Linked DNA regions of Homo sapiens: region 1 is linked to region 2. Evidence: promoter capture Hi-C in 16 types of primary human blood cells and fetal thymus (Javierre and others, 2016). All regions are on one chromosome and are shown on one strand. Each heading gives the region's core, a stretch centred on a gene start or on the middle of the fragment in contact. The rest is flanking DNA. Distances are from core to core; before and after follow the strand shown.

Evidence for each region. The method cuts DNA at HindIII sites, captures the fragments that hold promoters and counts their contacts. A CHiCAGO score of 5 or more calls a contact.
Region 1: a contact is called between the fragment with the promoter of MPZL1 here and the fragment with the promoter of ALDH9A1 in region 2, in 3 of 17 cell types (fetal thymus, activated CD4 T cells and total CD8 T cells). The highest score is 10.6, in fetal thymus.

Annotation. Positions count from the first base shown.
Region 1 is chr1:167,719,024-167,724,202 of GRCh38, reverse strand. It overlaps MPZL1 (myelin protein zero like 1), which reads right to left and starts at 2,221. Exons shown (of 6, transcript NM_003953.6): 1 at 1,961-2,221. The coding sequence starts at 2,051. RefSeq lists silencers at 1,582-1,721, 1,752-1,821, 2,212-2,581 and enhancers at 1,393-1,893, 4,120-4,619. The HindIII fragment of the contact is 2,037 bases long and covers 1,185-3,221 here.
Region 2 is chr1:165,697,098-165,702,545 of GRCh38, reverse strand. ALDH9A1 (aldehyde dehydrogenase 9 family member A1) reads left to right here and starts at 3,984. Exons shown (of 11, transcript NM_000696.4): 1 at 3,984-4,168. The coding sequence starts at 3,988. It also overlaps the pseudogene CA14P1. RefSeq lists enhancers at 3,549-3,728, 3,593-4,175, 4,019-4,248 and a silencer at 3,799-3,988. The HindIII fragment of the contact is 1,150 bases long and covers 3,003-4,152 here.

The DNA of each region.
Region 1 (5,179 bases), core at 972-3,471, 2.0 Mb before region 2:
CCCCATGCCTACCCAGTTTAAACTCCCTTCCTCCAGTAGCCTGAACTACAGTCTGAGATAATGACCCTCCTTCAAGCTCCCACAGTACATCTTTACCAATGTGCTTCTGACCCTACACAGTGGCACACACCTGTAGCCCCAGCTGCTTGCGAGGAAAAGGCAGAGGAATCACTGGAGCCCAGGAGTTTCAGTTCCAGAGCAGCCTGGGCAACACAGTGAGACCTAACCTCCCACCTTTTAAGTGTTAAGCACTTAAAAGGTGCTCAGTGAATGTTTGCTGAGTAACTGTCTTGATAAAACTTTAGAAGCTATCCTGTAAAAGATAAACTCTTATGTGCAGTATCCATGACCAGAAAAGAGGTGATTTGGCAAGAATTTTAGATTCAATAATTTTCTAAGTTGAACCAATAACATCAGCTGCTGATTTTTACATATCAACATTCATCTTCATTACTGAAGAGTTACGTCCAAGTTGTATGGGGCTATTACTCTAGTGATCTTTTCACTACTATGTAGTTTTGCACTCCTTCTACGTTTAATACCCTGATTTTAATTAAGATCACCCTAACTGCTTTGTCCTCCATAGCAATGTCTGACCTCTCATGCATAACAATTCTGTCTGAAGCATATTTCTGATAAACCTTAATTTTAGGCTATTTTCTACTTGTTTGATTAAACACAAATACCACCACCAACAAACACACTTTTAACCTTTTTTTCTAAGACAAAATACAGAATGGATTGTGTCTTACACAAAGTGTGTCATCATCTGTCAACCCCTGGAGGGTAGGGAGACTTTTACATTTATGCTTTACAGCCCCTGGAATCACTGTTTAAGTGGAACAGTTGGTGATCCAACAGAACTTCACCTAGTTTCCCTGATCCAAGGATTATATTAAGAACTTTTCCATGAAGAAAGAAATTACTGAGTAAACTCTGGTATTCAGATACTGTGATGCTAAATCATAACTGACATTTTGAAAACAAAGGGAATGAAAAAAATCTACGTGGTTTCTTAGCAGCTGGCCCTCTTTATAACTATTATTTAACTAAATTCGGAGACAGCAACAAGTACTTTGCTTTGAACAACAACACAGAAAAGTCCTGTGGCAGATACCACTTCAGATGTCCATAAAACAAGTCATCCAATTCCCATAAATTGAGCCCGAGGTTTACCTTAAGCTTGAGTCACAATATTTGGTAAGAAAAAGGAGCTTTTTTTTTCCTTTAGGAAAATTATGCTTTTTAATGCTCTATGTCTTGTCAAATTATGGTGGCTACGTCTGGAATTATGATGGATTTGACCAAATTCTTTTAAGCCAGGCCATCTCACTGGTATTCCAAGCTCTTTGCATTCTAACCTAGAAGTAACAATATTTTTTTATTGGCGTTTTGCAGACCACGGAAATGAGACTCTTTTATTACGGAGACTTAAAACTGAATGAGAGCATGGGAAAGGGAACTTACAACAAAACCCTGGCTTAACAGGAAACAAATCAACAAAGGCCCTACAAATGAAAAACCTGCAACTTTCCGCCACCTCCCAAAGGTGAAGAACGCCAGAACCCTAGTTCCTGAGTCAGAATCCGGGAGGGCCTAGACGATCCAGAGTCACCACGAGGAGAGGGCAGGGTGCGCCGCGAGGGCTCACCGCAGCCGCCCGCCGGGTCCGCTCCCCTGGACCGCCCCCCGGGAAGGAGCAAGGTAAAGCACTCTCCCCTCCTCCTCCGCACTCCAGGATCCAGGAAAGAGAAGAAAGAGGCTCTGCGCCTTCCCGGCCAGTCGCGGAGGCCCGCGTTCCCCATGGGCTGGGTCCCCTCGGCCCCAGAGAGCGCAGGCCGCGCCCCCTCCCCACCTCGGCTCTCAGTGCGCGCGCCTGGCCTGCGACCGCCGCGATGGGCGTGTGTCGGGCCCGGGGGCCCCACTCCCCGGCCCCAGCCCTGGTCCTGGCATCACTTACAGAGCCCAAGCGCCGCCGCCAGCACCGACCACAGCCAGCGCCGGCTGTCTGGGGCTGCAATCACCGCCCCGGCTCCGGCGGACGCTGCCATCGTCCAGCCACTGCAGTCGCCGCCGCCGCCGCCGCGTCCCTGAGCCCGGGTCCCCGCTGAGGTTGGCTCGGCTTGGGGAAGAGGCTTCTGATCTCTCCGCCACCCGCGCCGGGTGGCACCTCCACGCCGCGCTCCCCACTCCGGTCCCAGCCGCGGCTCTCCAGCTCTGCACCGAAGCCTCAGCCCCACTCCGGCCCTCGCTGTCCGCTCATTGGCCTGCCCGCACCCTTTTAAGGACGCGATTGGAGAGTCAGGCTGTCCATCATCCGTCCGCCGGGAAGGCCCCGCCTCCTCGGTCCCACCCAGGCGCCTCGGCCCCGCGCGGAGGCCGGGTCTGCAGCGGTCCCAGGCCGAGCCGAGCCTTCCGCCTGCCTGCGTGGCTGTCCGCCTGCGGGCCCCACCAGCCAGCGTCTCCTCTGCCTTTCTCAGGGTCCAGTCCCGTGGTCCTCTTCATTGTCTCTCCTCGCCACAGGTCTTTGCTGGGTACTAACCTCGCCTCCGTTTCAGCTCTTCTTGTTCTCTGCCGGCCTCACCTAACGAAAAAGAAGCAATTCATTTACCTTAAAAAGAAAGAAAAGACAGAAAGAAAAATAATGAGGCGTTCAATTGATGGGGGAGAGACTTCTGATTCAGTCGTCCAGGTGGAACACGTTCCCCGTGCCGTGTCCCCAAGGCCTGTCCTTTGCGTGGACTAGATAATGTATGTGTTGCAATTTGCGAAATCTACTAGTTTAAAAAGAAGTCTCCATCTTGCCCTAACCTCCTCTTAGGAACCTCCCTCCTGGCTTCAGAAGGATGGGAATCTGGAACTCTTTCCTACTACCTGAAAAACAAATGAAAATGCTTTTTGATTGTTTTGCTTTCGCATATCTGTGTTCCTGTCTGTGTCCGTGAAAAATAGAAAGCAGAAGTTCCCAACACTGATTCTGAAGTGCCCTGCAGAAGTTCCCGACACTGATTGCTGGCCCTGCTCAACTTGGTTGCCTTGGCCCAGAACAGTCTGCCACCTACGGGTTGTCCAATCAATAGGGGAAATATTTGGAAGGATCCTTATGAAAATGGCTTACAAAAGGGAAAAATGGGGGACAGGGGCACAAGAAAGATGAGTGTGAAGGAGGAAAAGGGAAGATTCAGGTGGGAGGCTGATACGATGAGGAAGGGAAGCAAGCTTTAGACAATTAGGACAAGAGCGGGGGAAGAGTATGGTGAGAACCCAAAATGTAACCTCTCACTTCAGGGTTTTTGTCTAAGGTCAGTCTTAACAATGCCATTCCTGATATCTGTGCTGTTTCAGCTAACATTGCAGTACAGCGAAATCATAAGAACATTAGTGAGAAAAAAACTTAAAAAAAAAAAATACCAGAACCACTTTGCCCTATTTCTGTCAGCAGATCCTTTTGAAGTTGTATCTCAAATGCCATAGGTTGGAAAAGATACCAATGCATTAATTGAACCATGGATGTAGAACACCTGGGCTTTACTCTCAAGAAGCACATCGTCTACTAGTGTACACAAACAAGTACTCAATTACATTTGTAAAAATGAGGGCCGGGTGCGGTGGCTCACACTTGTAATCCCAGCACTTCGGGAGGCCGAGGCGGGCAGATCACGAGGTCAGGAGTTTGAGACCAGCCTGGCCAGCGTAGTGAAACCCCATCTCTACTAAAAGATACAAAAAAATTAGCCGGGCATGGGTGGCGCGTGACTGTACCCAGCTACTCGGGTGGCTGAGGCAGGAGAATCGCTTGAACTGAGAGAAGAGAGACAGAACCTCTCATATAGTTTTATACTCAGAAAAGGAAAGAGAAGCGAAATTAAAGGCAGGTAACCCGGCGCCTAAGAACCAGACCCGAAACCAGGCCTGGGCCTGCCTGACCTAAGCCCGGTAGTTAAAGATCGACCCCTGACCTAACCGGTTATGTTATCTATGGATTCCAGACATTATATGGAAAGGCATTGTAAAAATCCCTGTCCTGTTCTGTTTCGTTCTGATTACCGGTGCATGCAGCCCCCATTCACAGTACCCTCTGCTTGCTCAATTGATCATGACCCTCTCACGCGGACCCCCTTAGAGTTGTGAGCCCTTAAAAGGGACAGGAATTGCTCACTCGGGGAGCTAGGCTCTTGAGACAGGAGGCTTGCCGATACTTCCGGCCGAATAAACCCCTTCCTTCTTTAACTCCGTGTCTGAGGAGTTTTGTCTGCGGCTCATCCTGCTACAGAACCTGGGAGGCAGAGGTTGCAGTGAGACGAGATCACGCGCCATTGCACTCCAGCCTGGGCGACAGGGCGAGACTCCGTCTCAAAAAAAGGAAGAGTGAATAAAGAAGAAACCCAAGGCCAGCAGGGACAGTGACTCTCAGCAGTGTTTAAAGCTTCTCTGCTGATTGTGATGTACCTCAGCCACATATACCTCGCTCTCCTAAAATCCACTGGCCCAAGAAGCATCTAGAAAGATTCACCAAGGATAAAACATTTAAGGTGAACTTTAAAAGATGAATAATTCACCAGAGAGAAAACAGGAAAAGCAAACTCAGAGAACGGAGAAAACAGGAAAAGCACATTCAGAGAAAAGAAATCACCTACCAAGTGTGAGAAACATTAGGTGAATCCTTTGTGGTTTGCAACTTGAGGGGAGTGAGGGAAAGAGGGGAAGAGAGAATGCCAGGAAAGGAGGCTGCGGTCATATTTTGAAGAGCCTTGAGTTGTGTTTTTTCTGGAGGCAGTGGAGAGTGGTGAAAGGGGTGTAAGAAGTTCGGATCTGTGTTTTAAAAAGGTAACCACTGCAGCAGGGCAAGAATGAAGAGAGCAGGAAATAAGGTATTGATAGTGGGGATGAGAAGACAGGATTTGAGAGACATTTCACGAAAAGAATTACAGGACTGGGTATAAATTGGATGAGAAGTATAATCAAGAGAAAAAGAGTCCCAATTTCTAGCCTGTCTGTCTTTGTCTTCAAGATCTGTTGCCAGAGGAAAATTGGAATGTGGGTGGTGTCCCAGGAACCCTGAGAATTTGACTCCTCGCAGATAACAAATCAGATAGATTCAAAGAGGAATCCCAGGCCACCTTGAGAAAGATTCGCCTGAAGCCAAATCAGTTTCACAAAGAATGTCTTAATCCAGAAG
Region 2 (5,448 bases), core at 2,735-5,234:
AGGCTGCCTAGATTAGGAAACCTGTTAGGTCTTCAGTGAGAAAATTACATTCTGTATATGAAGAATGTGAGGACACTCAGGCTTAAAATAAAATTCAATCTGTAAATTATTGTTAAGTGAAAGGCCCTGTTAAAATGGGCAGGAACAGGATTCTGAGTAATTTTTTCCTTTCTTTTTGTGTGGATGGTTTTCTGGCTCCCCACTGAAGGAGTTGCAACAGTAGTAAACATACTATTGTTCAGGAAATAAAAATAAATGTGGTGTGTGTGTGTTTGATGTATTAATAGTTCTAGAGGACAGACTAAGAGCTAGTACTCCCTAAAGATCTTTTCTTTCTTTTTTTTTTTTTTTTTTTGTTTTTGGAGAGCGAGTCTTGCTCTGTCGCCCAGGCTGGAGTGCAATGTTGCAATCTTGGCTCACTGCAGCCTCTGCCTCCAGGTTCAAGCGATCCTCGCGCTTCAACCCCCCAGCAGCTGGGACTAGAGGTGTGCGCCACCACACTTGGCTTTTTTTTTTTTTTTTTTTTGTATTTTTAGTAGAGACAGGGGTCTCACCATGTTGTCCAGGCTGGTCTGGAACTCCTGAGCTCAGGCAATCCACCCACCTCCGCCTCCCAAAGTGCTGGGATTACAGGTGTGAGCCACCGCATCCGGCATTTGCTTTTACTCTGGAGGTTGTGTCCAAGAAGAGTACTGCTAATGGTGAAACTAAGCCAAAGCAACAAATTGACAACTGGATGACCTGAGGGAGAGGCCAGTGAAGGACCCTGGATCACACAGTATGGGTTCCCAAGGACTTCTTCCTTTAGGAGACCTGGAGGTGGCAGAAGGGGATCCAGTTGCTTTTCTTTTCCTCCTCTGGTTGTCTGGGGAAGGAAATGTGGAAAAGGAGGGGGCTTTAGTGGCACCCAAGTTTGGCTTTAAGCAAGTTGTGAGGCAGGCAGTTTCTCCTTGGATCTTCTACCCCTTTAGCAATGATTCCACTCCTTTTCTATCTCTTTTTACCCCCAAATCTGCCCTCCAACACACACCCATCTAAGAGGTGTTTCTCTTTTGGCATTCCTTCTGCTCCTTGTGGCATCTTTGTCCCTTTGAATTTCACCCTGAACTTGTAAACTGGCCAGCATCCTCTGTGACTTCTGGGCTGCTTACTGGGTAGTGCTGACAAATATCCTAAGAAGTTTACATGTCCTTTAAATCTCCCTAGAACCAGATTTCTGGGTTTCTGATAAATATCCACCAACATAAGAGTGAATTTTGATAGCAACCTTCATGGGGTCAACATCTCGACCTGGTGTAGTAAGAAGAAATTTACTTTGGACTTGCACAGAGCTGGACTCCAGCCTTAGCTCCTTTATGGGGAAGCTCTACGACCTTTCTATTAGTTTCCTCATCTGTACAATGGGGATGATAAAACCTATCTTGCATGATTGTCACTGAGATATTTGACAAAGTGCCACATACTACCTCCTAGCTCAATCTCTGTTAGTTTCCTTTTCTTTTGTAGGGTTATTATGAGCTTCATGTGAGAAAGTAAATGTGAAAGGGCTCTGTAACCTATAAAGCTCTTTCTACATGTTGGATTTTGCTAATGAAAAATAATACATTAATAATCTAATAATAAGGGTGGAAGGAGGGAGAGGATCAGGAAAAATAACTCATGGGTACTAGGCTTAATACCTGGGTAATGAAATAATCTATACAACACACCCCCATGACACAAGTTTACCTATGTAACAAATCTTTACATGTACCCCTGAACCTAAAAGTTAAAAATAATAATTTAATAATAAAAGCACAGATAGGTAAGAGGAACAGCTAGATATTTAAAAGGTAGATATTTTGGAGGAGATCTGTTTTCTTTGGGGAAGGGTCTTACTCTGTTGCCCAGGCTGGAGCAGTGGTGCCATGATCGCTCACTCCAGTCTTGAACTCCTGGCCTCAAGCAATCCTCCACCTCAGTCTCTTGAGTAGTCAGGACTACACGCTTGTGCCACCATGCTCGGCTAATTTTTAAAAATATTTTGTAGAGACAGAGTCTCACTATGTTGCCCAGGCTGGTCTTGAACTCCTGGCCTCAAGCGATCCTCCTGCCACGGTCTCCCAAAGTGTTGAGATTACAGGTGTGAGTCCTGTGCCTGGCCAGAGGTTTGTCAGTCTTATCATCTATGAATTAATTCAATAGACATCACGACCACATTTCCAAAACAAACATCAGGAATTATGATGTGACAAGTCAAAATGCATTGGTTGGGGACAGAATCTTTTAAATAGAAATTGTCCCATAAAATTTGAGACGTATAGTTTCTGTACCTAAATGACCATTCAGTGATCTTGGAAATCTATAGTGCTGCTCGTCACCAACTCCTGATATGTTTCAATTCTGTTTGCAATGGACAATAATAAAATAATATGTGAGTGTGGCCTCAGGTATTCTGAGTTTGGGCACTGCTGTTTCCATCTGAGGACCAAGACCTACACATCTCAGTAGCACTGAAAAAGTGAACAAACTGGTATAGAGTGCCAGAAAACTTGATCAGAATACATTATATATACTCTAAACCTGAAAACCACACTCCCTAATATTGCGCTGGTGAGCTGGCAGGTAAAGGAAAAAACATTGAGAAAGACAGCAGCCCCCAGAAGAGAAACAATCCTAAAAGAAATGTCCAAATTGCCAATTACTTTCTGTTTGTCAAAGTCTCTACTGGAGGTGCATGGAAGTTTGGTGAGAAGAATGAACCTTTGTGCAAGATCCCTCAGCTGACAGACCTGTGAGTGCCTCTGGGTGGCTGCTTTGTCTTACAGAAGGCATTTTGTTTCCTGACACTTTTTCCTGTGGCCTTTGCTCTTCGTATTCTGTATGTTAGGCTTCTGTTTCTATCAATATTTGTCATTAATAGCATTTACATTGCTCCTTCAGAATTTATTTATTTTGAGACAGGGTCTCGCTCTGTTGCCCAGGCCTGAGTGCAGTGGCACGATTATAGCTCACTGCAAGCTTGGACCCCCGGGGCTCAGGGGATCCTCCCACCTTAGCCGCCCAAGTACCTGGGGCCACAGGCGTGTGCCACCACACCTGGATAATTTTTTTTTTTTCTGAGTTTCACTCTTGTCACCCAGACTGGAGTGCAATGGCATAGTCTCGGCTCACTGCAACCCGTCTCCCGGGTTCAAGCGATTTTCCCACCTCAGCCTCCCAAGTAGCTGGGATTACAGGCGCCCGCCACCACACCCAGCTAATTTTTGTATTTTTAGTAGAGACGGGGTTTTACCATTTTGGTCAGGCTGGTCTCGAACTCCTGACCTCAGGTGATCTGCCCGCCTTGGCCTCCCAAAGTGCTAGGATTACAGGCGTGAGCCACCGCGCCCGGCCCAATTTTTATTATTTTTATTTTATTTTTTTATAGACACGGGATCTCTCTCTGTTGCCCGCAAACTCCTGGGCTCAAGCGATCCTCCAGCCTTGGTGAGAGCCACAGCGCCCAGTCTCTCTTTAAGAATTTAAAAAGCAGTTTCAGATCACAATATCATCTATCTCGTTCACAGTCCCCTTGCTTTTTACTGTCACCCTTTAAAAAGCATTATACAATTACAGAAACGGTGGTTTAGCAGTGAAGTAACCACCAAAGACTCTTGGCACTCCAATCCTCTGCCTTCTTCAGGCGATAGGATTAAGAATGGGATCCTAGGATGCTTACATGCAATGATGAACCCGAAAACACTTGCAAAGTGCTACGCAAATATTGATCACGAAGAAGGAAGTCCTCTTCCCGCCTGGAGACTGTGTGGGGTATGGCGGGGTGGTGGGGAGAATGTGGTGTCTTGCTCCACCCTCCTGGCGAGGGGAGGGCCTGGCCTGGACCGCAGAGGAATCGAGTGACTGCCCCTAAAATCTCCTAGAACCGATCCCGCGGCCCCGCCCCTCCCGCGGCCCCGCCCCTCCCGCGGCCCGTCAGCCTCTGCCGCGGAGCTGCGTCCGCCACTCATGTTTCTCCGAGCAGGCCTGGCCGCGCTCTCCCCGCTTCTTCGCAGTCTTCGGCCCTCTCCTGTCGCCGCCATGAGCACTGGCACCTTCGTCGTGTCGCAGCCGCTCAATTACCGCGGCGGGGCCCGCGTGGAGCCGGCGGACGCCTCCGGTACCGAGAAAGCTTTCGAGCCAGCAACCGGTAACTGCAACGAGCCGGGGAGGCTGGGGCGCCCTGGGGCCGGATGCGCGGATTTCCCGGCCAGCCCCCGTTTCCTGTGTTCTGCAGCGTTGACTTGAGCACAAGACAGTGACAGTGGAGAGTCTAAGGTTGTGTGTGTAGGCAACTAGCGATTCTGGGGCAACGCGAGTGCCTCCGGGCAGGGATGGGTAGGGAGGAAAAGCAAAGCTGATGAGTTGCGTGGTAGGATCGTGAGTTGTTTTACCCGGGCCAGAACAGAGTTCGCAAAGTACTGGTGGGGGAAGTCGTGCCTCTGTTAACTTCCTTTTTTGTTTGTTTTGTTTGTTTGTTTGTTTTTTGTTTGTTTTGAGACAGGGTCTCACTCTGTCGCCCAGGCTGGAGTGCAGGGGCACCATCTCAGAGCTCACTGCGCCCTCTACCTTACGGGCTCAAGTGCTTCTCCCGCCTCAGCCTCCCTGGTAGCTGGGATTACAGGCTCCCACCACCATGTCCGGCTAATTTTTGTATTTTTAGTAGAGACGGGTTTTCAGCATGTTACTCAGGCTGGTCTCGAACTCCTGAGCTTAGGTGATCCTCCCGCCTCAGCCTCCCAAAGTGCTGGGATTACAGCCGTGAGCCACCAAGCCCAGCCAACTGTTCCCCCTTTTAAAACCAGGACTGATGTATTATTGTCTTCAAATGTGTGCATAGGAGAGGAATTCTAAAAGAACGGGGCGGGGTTGTGGGGAAGATAATCATTTGTGCTGGGAATGAAGGAACGCTCACAGATAGTTTCTAATGACTACGAATGAGGACTTTGTCTCCACATTCTAATATTAAAATATTTCTGCACATTAATCAGAATTGGGAAAGGAAAAAACCCCACCTTTATTCAGTACTTTCTTCCCCAGCTTTATTGAAGTATAATTAACAAATAAAAATTGTATATACTTAAGGTGTAAAACGTGTTGTAATGTATGTATACCTTGCAAAATGGTTACCACGGTCAATCTAATTATCCATTGCTTCTGCATAGTTAATGGCTTTTTTTGGATAGTGAAATATTTAAGATCTATTCTTTTAGCAAATTTCAAGTATATGATGCAGTATTGGTAACCATAGTCACCATGGTCTACGTGAGCTCTCCACAATTTATTCATCTTGCTGAAATAAAACTTTTTAATCCAGTGCTTAATGTGTGCTAAGCACTGTGCTAGGCACTGGATTTACTCTGGGAACTCTGAAGGTCACAGAGATAAGGAAGAAGGGGCTTTTTGTTTTGGTTTTGTGTTGTGTTTATT